Regions from separate parts of the Homo sapiens genome. Here all the other regions are linked to region 3. The links are contacts of gene promoters, found by promoter capture Hi-C in blood cells and fetal thymus (Javierre and others, 2016). All regions are on one chromosome and are shown on one strand. Each heading gives the region's core, a stretch centred on a gene start or on the middle of the fragment in contact. The rest is flanking DNA. Distances are from core to core; before and after follow the strand shown.

The links. The method cuts DNA at HindIII sites, captures the fragments that hold promoters and counts their contacts. A CHiCAGO score of 5 or more calls a contact.
Region 1: the fragment with the promoter of CAMTA2 here is called in contact with a fragment that was not itself captured in region 3 in 1 of 17 cell types (neutrophils); the score reaches 6.4 in neutrophils.
Region 2: a contact is called between the fragment with the promoter of MINK1 here and a fragment that was not itself captured in region 3, in 1 of 17 cell types (neutrophils). The highest score is 5.0, in neutrophils.

What each region holds. Positions count from the first base shown.
Region 1 is chr17:4,986,277-4,988,992 of GRCh38, forward strand. CAMTA2 (calmodulin binding transcription activator 2) reads right to left here and starts at 1,399. Exons shown (of 23, transcript NM_015099.4): 1 at 1,317-1,399; 2 at 1-10. It overlaps INCA1 (inhibitor of CDK, cyclin A1 interacting protein 1), which reads right to left. Exons shown (of 7, transcript NM_001394789.1): 6 at 2,503-2,668; 7 at 1,854-2,278. The coding sequence ends at 2,129. It overlaps CAMTA2-AS1 (CAMTA2 antisense RNA 1), which reads left to right and starts at 1,468. Exons shown (of 3, transcript NR_187235.1): 1 at 1,468-1,949; 2 at 2,140-2,316; 3 at 2,411-2,716. RefSeq lists a silencer at 879-1,418. The HindIII fragment of the contact is 15,391 bases long and covers 1-2,348 here.
Region 2 is chr17:4,831,968-4,834,667 of GRCh38, forward strand. MINK1 (misshapen like kinase 1) reads left to right here and starts at 1,373. Exons shown (of 32, transcript NM_153827.5): 1 at 1,373-1,673. The coding sequence starts at 1,617. RefSeq lists an enhancer at 430-1,216 and silencers at 1,194-1,663, 1,674-1,923. The HindIII fragment of the contact is 4,876 bases long and covers 1-2,700 here.
Region 3 is chr17:4,253,951-4,256,650 of GRCh38, forward strand. All of the region lies in intron 1 of ANKFY1 (ankyrin repeat and FYVE domain containing 1), which reads right to left. Among named protein-coding and RNA genes, the nearest start is that of ANKFY1, 8.7 kb to the right of the region's middle. The HindIII fragment of the contact is 4,992 bases long and covers 1-2,700 here.

The DNA.
Region 1 (2,716 bases), core at 149-2,648, 730 kb after region 3:
GGAGTCTGTGCTGGGAAGGGAGAGAACAAGGTCATGGCAGAAGCCCCCACATTAATCCAGGATGAGAAGTATGAGGTAGGGAGTGGGTATAGAACTGGGTCATAGTATCTGGGAAGGATGAGGAAAGGGAGGGAGGGGCTGACTGTGATGTGACAGTAGAAGAGAGAACAACACACAGTGCCCGGAGCCAATATGAGTGAGCAGACTGGACAGGAAGAGTGAGCAGGAAGAAATGGGTTGGGGTGGGGGAGCGGGGAGAAGACTGGCAGGGCTTGGGCCTCAGAGGCCCTAAACCTTGAGCTTTTGCACAGACTGGGGCTATGGTTGGGTCAGGTCCTGGGGGTTGGGACTCAGGCCATCCGGTCCTTGGAGGATGGTTTGGCAAGAGAGCCTGGATCCTGGGGGCAGGGCAGGAGATTCTACCTCCGGTAGAAGCTAGGCCTTTAGAAGACACGCCCTGAGTTCCTTCTCTGTTTGATTTTTCCAAGGGGAAGGGCAGATCTGATAACTGAACCTAACCTATTCTCTCCTCCAGGTTGGTTAGGACCTGATAGAATCTGGGCCAGACACCCAGATTCCCACCCTCAGGACAACCCACCCTCCGGCTGACAGCCCTCTCTACGTAGCTCCCTCTCCCCAAACGCCTCTGCCTCCCCTGGCCTCCAGGCCTAGCCTACCCCATCTACCGCTCTGGCTCCAGCCTGAGCCCCCCGCCCTCCTCGGGGAACAGATGGGAGCTGGCGGAGGCTCTCAGCACGGGCTCCGCCAGGTGTCCAGGATGGAGATGGGAGGAGGCCCGTCGGGCTCGGCTATGTGCAGTGAAGCTGGGGTTGGGGTAAGGACTCCGCCCCAGGGCGCAGGTGCGCAGTCCTGGCTAGGCAGCCTGCCAGGGTGCGGAGCGGGAGCGGGTCCTTGGGCTGCACTTGGGCGGCGCCGGATCGGACGCTTGGCACTCTGGGCGGCCCCCCGGCGGAGTGGTGGTCCCAGGAGAACCTCCGAGGTGGGAGGGTCCCGCCCGCATAGAGGGATGTTCTGGAGAAGCCGGGAGCAGAGTCCGCGGGCACGCGGTGGGCGAGGGACAGTGCAGGTGCCGGGTGCGGGGGTCTCCGGGACAGTCCCCGGCACGCGCTGGTCCGCCGTGGGGCCCTGCGGTGAGCGGCGCCCCCTGGCGCGGGGGAGGAGGACGGAAGCGGGAGGTGAGGGCGAACCGGGAAGAGGGACGGTGGTCCCTGGCGCGGCGCTCCGCGTCGGGACCTGGAGGAGCTGCGCCCTCTGGCGCGGGGGCGGAGAGGCGGGCGAGAGGCCCTGGCTCTTACCTCCCGGGGTCCCGCGGGTGACGGCGGCAGCGGCCATTCTACCCCACACCGACCCCCCCCAGCGCCGGCTGACAGCGGCGTCTAACGTCACTGCGCACGGGGCGGGGCCTCCCAATTAAGGGGATGAGGGTCAGGAAGGGAACCTGGGGTCAGCACACGTGGAGTTCTGGGTGGGGCGCTGGGCAGAGGGACTCGGCTTCTAGGGCTCTGAGCCAGGCCGAGGGACAGACTGCTGGGAAGTCCCCAAAAGGGCAGCAGCACTGAGGGGCAGGATTCCAGGGTCCTGGAGGCGGAAGCTCGGCCGACTGACTCCCAGTTCGAGAGAACGGGGCGGGGGCAGCCCACCAGTGCTGGAACCCGAGGGGCCGGGCGAGGAACGCTGGACTGGGAGCAGGACCCTTCTCGCCTCGGACAAGACTCCTTGTCTGGGGACCCAGCCCGACTTCATTGTAGCTGGGTCCTCGAGAAAGCGAAAGGAGCCCTCCTTCCCCATTGGCCTCTCCATCGCTGCATCCCAAGAAGAAAGACAACTCGGGCTCCACTTGCTTGCTTTTTAATAACAGAGCAGAGAGAATACAAGGCCAGGAGCGGGGCCTGGAGGAAAACAGGACTTGGGGTGCTCCTGTGAGAGCGGTGGGTTGAGATGGGAGCCCACGGGGGCTGTTAATGCCTAGTTCAGAGGATGGGAAAGGCAGTTGGAGAGACGAAGGAAGGGGAAACGCCTTCATGTCAGCAATGAGGGTGACTCTAGTGACGGAACTAGTCTTGGGTCCCTGGGGCACCACTAGCCTCTCGGCATCGGTGGTTTCTCCTTACTCTTCAGACGCTGCCAACTCCATCCCCCAGGGATTGTGAAGGGGGTTCCTTCTGGCTGTGACAGTGCTGAACGAGGCCAGAGAGTGCAGCTGCCTGGAGGCACAAGCCTCCTCCTGATCCAGGGGGCTCCAGGGAGACCAAAGCAGCTGTCAAGATGAGAGAAATTGAAAAAGAAAATGGAAAAGTAGGTCTTCTTTCCAGATTTCCTAGTACCCAAGCTTAGGTACCTCGAAGTCTCTGGTTCTCACCTACGTTATTTTTGTTTCTCTCAAATCCAGCTCTCCAGCCTGGCTCTCAGCTTCTGCATCTCCATGCAAGACCAGAGACCCACATCACTCCCTCACTCCACCCAGTTCCACTCCAACAATACCTGGGCCCTGCCAGGAGTGAGAAAACGGTCCTCTTCCTGTGGATAGGTTGCTCTCTCCTCTTCCAGATCAGGGTATTCATTGGTGCTGGGGAATCCACAGCCCTCTTCGCCAAGCACCACTGGCTCAGATGCAGCCCCAGAGCTGCCCCACTGGGCCTTCTTCAGTCTGTGGAGACTTTAGGCTGAGGAGAGAAGTGCCTGGAGGCCAGGCTTC
Region 2 (2,700 bases), core at 123-2,622, 580 kb after region 3:
TGAGGCAGGAGAATGGCATGAACCCGGAAAGCGGAGCTTGCAGTGAGCTAAGATCGCACCACTGCACTCCAGCCTGGGCGACAGAGTGAGACTCTGTCTCAAAAAAAAAAAAAAAAAAAAAAAAATAGAATTGACTTGAAGGAGTCAGGCCGGAAGGCCAAATAGGAGATGAATGGGGATAGCGGCTTGAATAAGGGCAGTGGCAAGGAAAATGGGCTAGGGGTTAGGGAAGGGGGCCGACTGGCTGTGCACCCAAATGCTAAAAACGGTCCAGAAAGGAATGTGTTCAGCTATTTTTCAAGGACTTCTAAATTAAACTCTCTTAAATGATGTTTATATTAAGGCTGGTGGTGGAGTCTTTCAGAGGCAGTGTTGGTGCTAGAAGAGCTCTTGAGGATCATACAGCCTCCCCCCTCAATTTCACAGTGAAAGAAAACCTCAGAGAAGCAAAGCAACTTGCTCAAGGTCACACAGCATTTCAGTGGTAGAACATGACTCGTGGTTCTTAGATAGCATTACCCAGCCTCCACTGAGGCTAATGGCTGTAGGCGCTATGCCAACATGACTAGATCTAAGGTGACCCAAGCTATATTTTAAGGGACTGAACGCAGATTCCCTCTCTTCCCCTTCGCCACCCCTTCCTCCACGCGCGACTCCAGTGATCAATGAATAATTGTGGAAACAGTTCCTTTGTGCAGAACACTTTGTTAAAAGAGGTGCAGAGATACACGTCTGCGGTAGGATTCCTTATCCTGAGATCTGAGAGCACCTCGATGCTTCCCCAACCTGCTAGGTGAGGGTGGAAAGGGCATTCCTGAGGCAGCCGGTGCCCCTCCTCTGCCCCCCAACTCCCACGTGGTTTCTCCAGCCAAGTTCTCACGGAGTGGCCCCTCCCTCAGCGGCTCCACTGTTGCCATAGCAATTGGGTGGGTGGACAGCCCGTCCTATCTAGAGGCCACCCAGCCCTCGCGTGGGGAGTTACCATAACAACCCCCTAGTAATAGAGGGGGTTGGGTACCGCCCCCTTCCCCCGCAAATGGAAAGGTGGGTGGCTTGATTGGCAGCTGGGCACACGAAAGAAGGAGGGAAAGGGAAGGAAAGGCGTCAAAGGAGATCTGAGAAGGAAATAAGGGAGAGAAAGGGCAAAAAAAATAGGGAAAGAAAAGGAAACGCGTGTGCGCACGCGCACCAGCTGGTGGGCGCGCTCCGCGGCCGCCTCGGCCGCCGCCCACTTCTTTCACGCCAGGCTCGCGCGGTCGCTCCGTCCTCGCGCGCGCCTTTCGCCTGCTCGCCTGCGCCTGCGCGCAGGTGTCGGCGCCTAGGGGGAGGGGGCCCCGGCGCGCTCGCGTCACGCTCGCGCTTCCACCCTCCCAGTGCGCGGTCGCTCCGCGCCTGCGCAGGAGAGGTGGTAGGCTCGGGTGGCTGGCTCCGGGGAGATAGCGCCTGTCAGTCGGTGGGTCGGTCCTCGCGCCGGCCCTCCCCCTCCCCGGTCTCCGGGGGAGGCGCGGTGGAGTCCGCCCCCGGGGTTCTCCGATGGGGGAGAAGCGGCGACGGCGGCAGTGGAGTAACCGAGCCGGAGCGTGAGCGGCCCCGGTGCCCCGTTCCCCACGGAGGCCATGGGCGACCCAGCCCCCGCCCGCAGCCTGGACGACATCGACCTGTCCGCCCTGCGGGTGAGCGCGCCGTCCCCCAGCCTCGCCCTGGTTCCTGTCCCCGCCGCAGGGGAGGGAGCGGGGTGGCTGCACGCCTCACGTGCTCCCGGGCGCCCCCTCCACCAGCTTGGGTCCCCTTGGCGACCCGTGCCCCTTTCCCGGACTCCCGCCGCGGCTGGGCCCCCGCCCTCTGCTCCCTTCTCTCTCCACTGGCTGCAGATGCTGGGAGCCAGTTCGGTCCCCACCCTGTGGTGCCCCGCCCCCACACTTCCGTGCCACCCTACCTTTACTCTGGGGTTCGGGACCCACTGGTTCGCCTAAACTTAGCCTCCCCCATCACCTGGAGAACCTTTATTGTGGTTCCTTACCTCCTTTCGGCCCTTTTCCACCTTTGCCCTTACTTCTATCTTCTTCCTTCCCCTCCTCTTCCTCAGCTCCTGGAATTTTGACTTTGCAACTGTCTCGACAGCCTCTCTCTCATCCCTCTTTCTCTGCCTCGCCCACCCTTGAATTGCATCCTTTCCCTGGTCGGAATTTCAGCTACCCCACCCCTCGTGCCGTCACCCTCAATCCCATGTTCAGTTTTCCCTATCCCTTCTCTCCTGTTTCAAGTGCAGCAGTTCAGAACCAGGCATTTCCGGTCTCAGGGTCCCTGAATATTACATGACCAACTCTGCAGCAGCGTGGGGCTGGGAGCCCTCGGGGAGGAGGGGAGGCATTTCTTCTCTTTGGAAACTGTAGCACGGGCTGGGAAGAGGATGTTTACACACACACACACGCGCACACACGACACATGCTACATGTGGTCAGGCTGAAGGTTTGGAAAGGCAGTGGGTGTTTATGTTAGCTAAAGGCTGGAAGCAATGGAGACCTCTCAAGGTAGGGGCTAATAAGGAAAGGGGTTGAGAGGAAGCAAATGCTGCAGGAATTTCTTGGAAATACCCGTTCATTGTCCCTTGTGGGGCACTTACACACTCTGGTGGAAGAGCTTTCTGTAGCATTTATGTTTTTCTTCGGCAGGGAGCTTTGGCTTAAGGGGCAACTTAGT
Region 3 (2,700 bases), core at 57-2,556:
AGTGTCTCTGCATTGACCAAAACATCATTATGCAGCACGTAACTGTTCATGTATCCTTGTAAGAGGGAGCAGGGGCTGGCCGCGGTGGCTCACGCCTGTAATCCCAGCACTTTGAGAAGCCAAGGTAGGCAGATCACGAGGTCAGGAGATCAAGACCATCCCGGCTAACACGGTGAAACCCCATCTCTACTAAAAATACAAAAATTAGCCAGGTGTGGTGGCAGGCGCCTGTAGTCCCAGCTACTCGGGAGGCTGAGGCAGGAGAATCGCCTGAACCTGGGAGGCGGAGGTTGCAATGAGCCAAGATCGCACCACTGCACTCCAGCCTGGACCACAGAGTGAGACTCCATCTCAAAAAAAAAAAAAAAAAAAAAAAAAAAAAAGGAAGGCACAGAGGGAGTCTGACCCACTCAGAGTAGGTCTTGTGAACACAGAACAGAGAGAAATTTGAAGATGCTGTCCTTGAAGACTGGAATGATGCAGCCAATAGCCAAGGAATGTCAGCAGCCTCTTGCAGGTGGAAGAATCAGGAAAAAGATTTTCTCCTAGAGCCTCCAGAGGGAATAGGGCCCTACTGAGACCTTGATTTGAGCCCAGTGATACTGATTTCAATCAGACTTCTGTCATCCAGAATCATAAGAACACGTTTCTGTTGTTTTAAGCCATCTAGCTTGTGGAAATCTGTTACAGCAGCCACATGAAACTAAAACACCTATACTTACAAACAAAAAATTCTGTATAGTAAAAGATTTTAATGCCCTAGTAACTTTTTGCTAGATTAGTGTCAACATCATTCTATGGAGTAAAAGGAAATGTACACTTTCCTGTAATATTTTGCAATAAGACAGAAAGTGGGAATTAATATTTTTTATGTCTCCTATGGCAGTTAAGTTCTTCACATTCATCATCTCAGATTCTAACTATATTGAAAAAGTAATATACTAACAGTGAAACTCACTTAAGTGAGTTGCCTAAAATCACACAATTAGCAGAAGACAGACTCAAGATTTGTGGTCTTAAGCCAGAACGCATCCCATTAACACCATGATGCCAGATTTCAGCTCCAGTATCAGAACACCAAGATTAGTCATTAATTAATCCAGGAATTAAATGAGCTCCTTCATTTCCTATAGTAAATGCACTCTACTCCCCTCCAGCCACTCCAGTTCTAACCCACACTGTATTCAGTCTTTCTAGATTCACATCACCCTGGCATTTCCTTTCTCTACACTCCTATAGTTCTTCTATTCTAGCCAAAACTTTAGCAATGAATTAGTGTTCTTCATGTAATTCTTTTTTTTTTTTTTTTTTTTTGAGACAAGAGTTTCTCTTGTCGCCCAGACTGGAGTGCAATGGTGTGATCTTGGCTCATGGCAACCTCTGCCTCCCGGGTTCAAGCAATCCTCCTGCCTCAGCCTCCTGAAGCAGCTGAGATTACAGGCGCCTGCCACCATGCCCAGCTAATTTTTTTGTATTCTTAGCAGAGACAGGATTTCGCCATGTTGGCCAGGCTGGTCTTGAACTCCTGACCTGAGGTGATCCCCTGGCCTCGGCCTCCCAAAGTGCTGGGATTACAGGCATAAGCCACCGTGCCCAGTCTCTTCATGTAATTCTTTAATGACTAAATGACTTTATACCTATTCTGCTTTAACTATGTCCATTAGATAAAAGAGAAATGATTGTAAAGGCTGTGATAACATTCTATTTGGAGAACTACAAGAATAATTTTTTGTTCCAGGCTTATATTAGGATCTTCCACAAAAAAATATTTCATTAAAGTGTCAGCTTCCCAGAAAATACTATCTTCCTTGGCATCAGATTAGAAAAGCTCTTCACTGGTGATTAATTACCACCACTACTACTTTTCTTTTTTTTTTTTCTTTTGAAACGGAGTCTCACTCTTGTCGCCCAAGCTGGAGTGCAATGGCGCGATCTCAGCTCACTGCAACCTCCGCTTCCCAGGTTCAAGCAATTCTTCTGCCTCAGCCTCCCGAATAGCTAGGATTACAGGAGTGCACCACCAAGCCTGGCTAATTTTTGTATTTTTAGTAGAGACGGGGTTTCACCATGTTGCTCAGGCTAGTCTCAAACTCCTGATCTTGTGACCTGCCCGCCTCGGCCTCCCAAAGTGCTGGGATTACAGGTGTGAGGCACCACGCCCAGCCCACAAATATGGATGTTTAAAAGCTCCCAGGTGGCCAGGCGCGGTGGCTCATGCCTGTAATCCCAGCACTTTGGGAGGCCAAGGCGGGCGGATTACGAACTGAGGAGATCGAGACCATCCTGGCTAACAGAGTGAAACCCCGTCTCTATTAAAAATACAAAAAATTAGCCAGGCGCAGTGGCGGGCGCCTGTAGTCCCAGCTACTCAGGAGGCGGAGGCAGGAGAACGGCGTGAACCCGGGAGGTGGAGCCTGCAGTGAGCTGAGATCGCACCACTGCACTCCAGCCTGGGCAATAGAGCGAGACTCCATCTCAAAAAAAGAAAAAACTCCCAGGTTAACTGTACTGTGCAGGGTTCTCCAGGTTGAGAACTATGTACTAATGGAACGAGGGAGAGAGGAAAGCACAGATGTGAGAGGTGTACAGCATCCGGGGGATTTGGTGACTGATGCAGATCTTGGGGGGAGTCGGAGATAACTTTTTGGTGACTGACTTGAGAGTCTGGCTGAAAAGTAGTGCCATTAATCATGAATATAG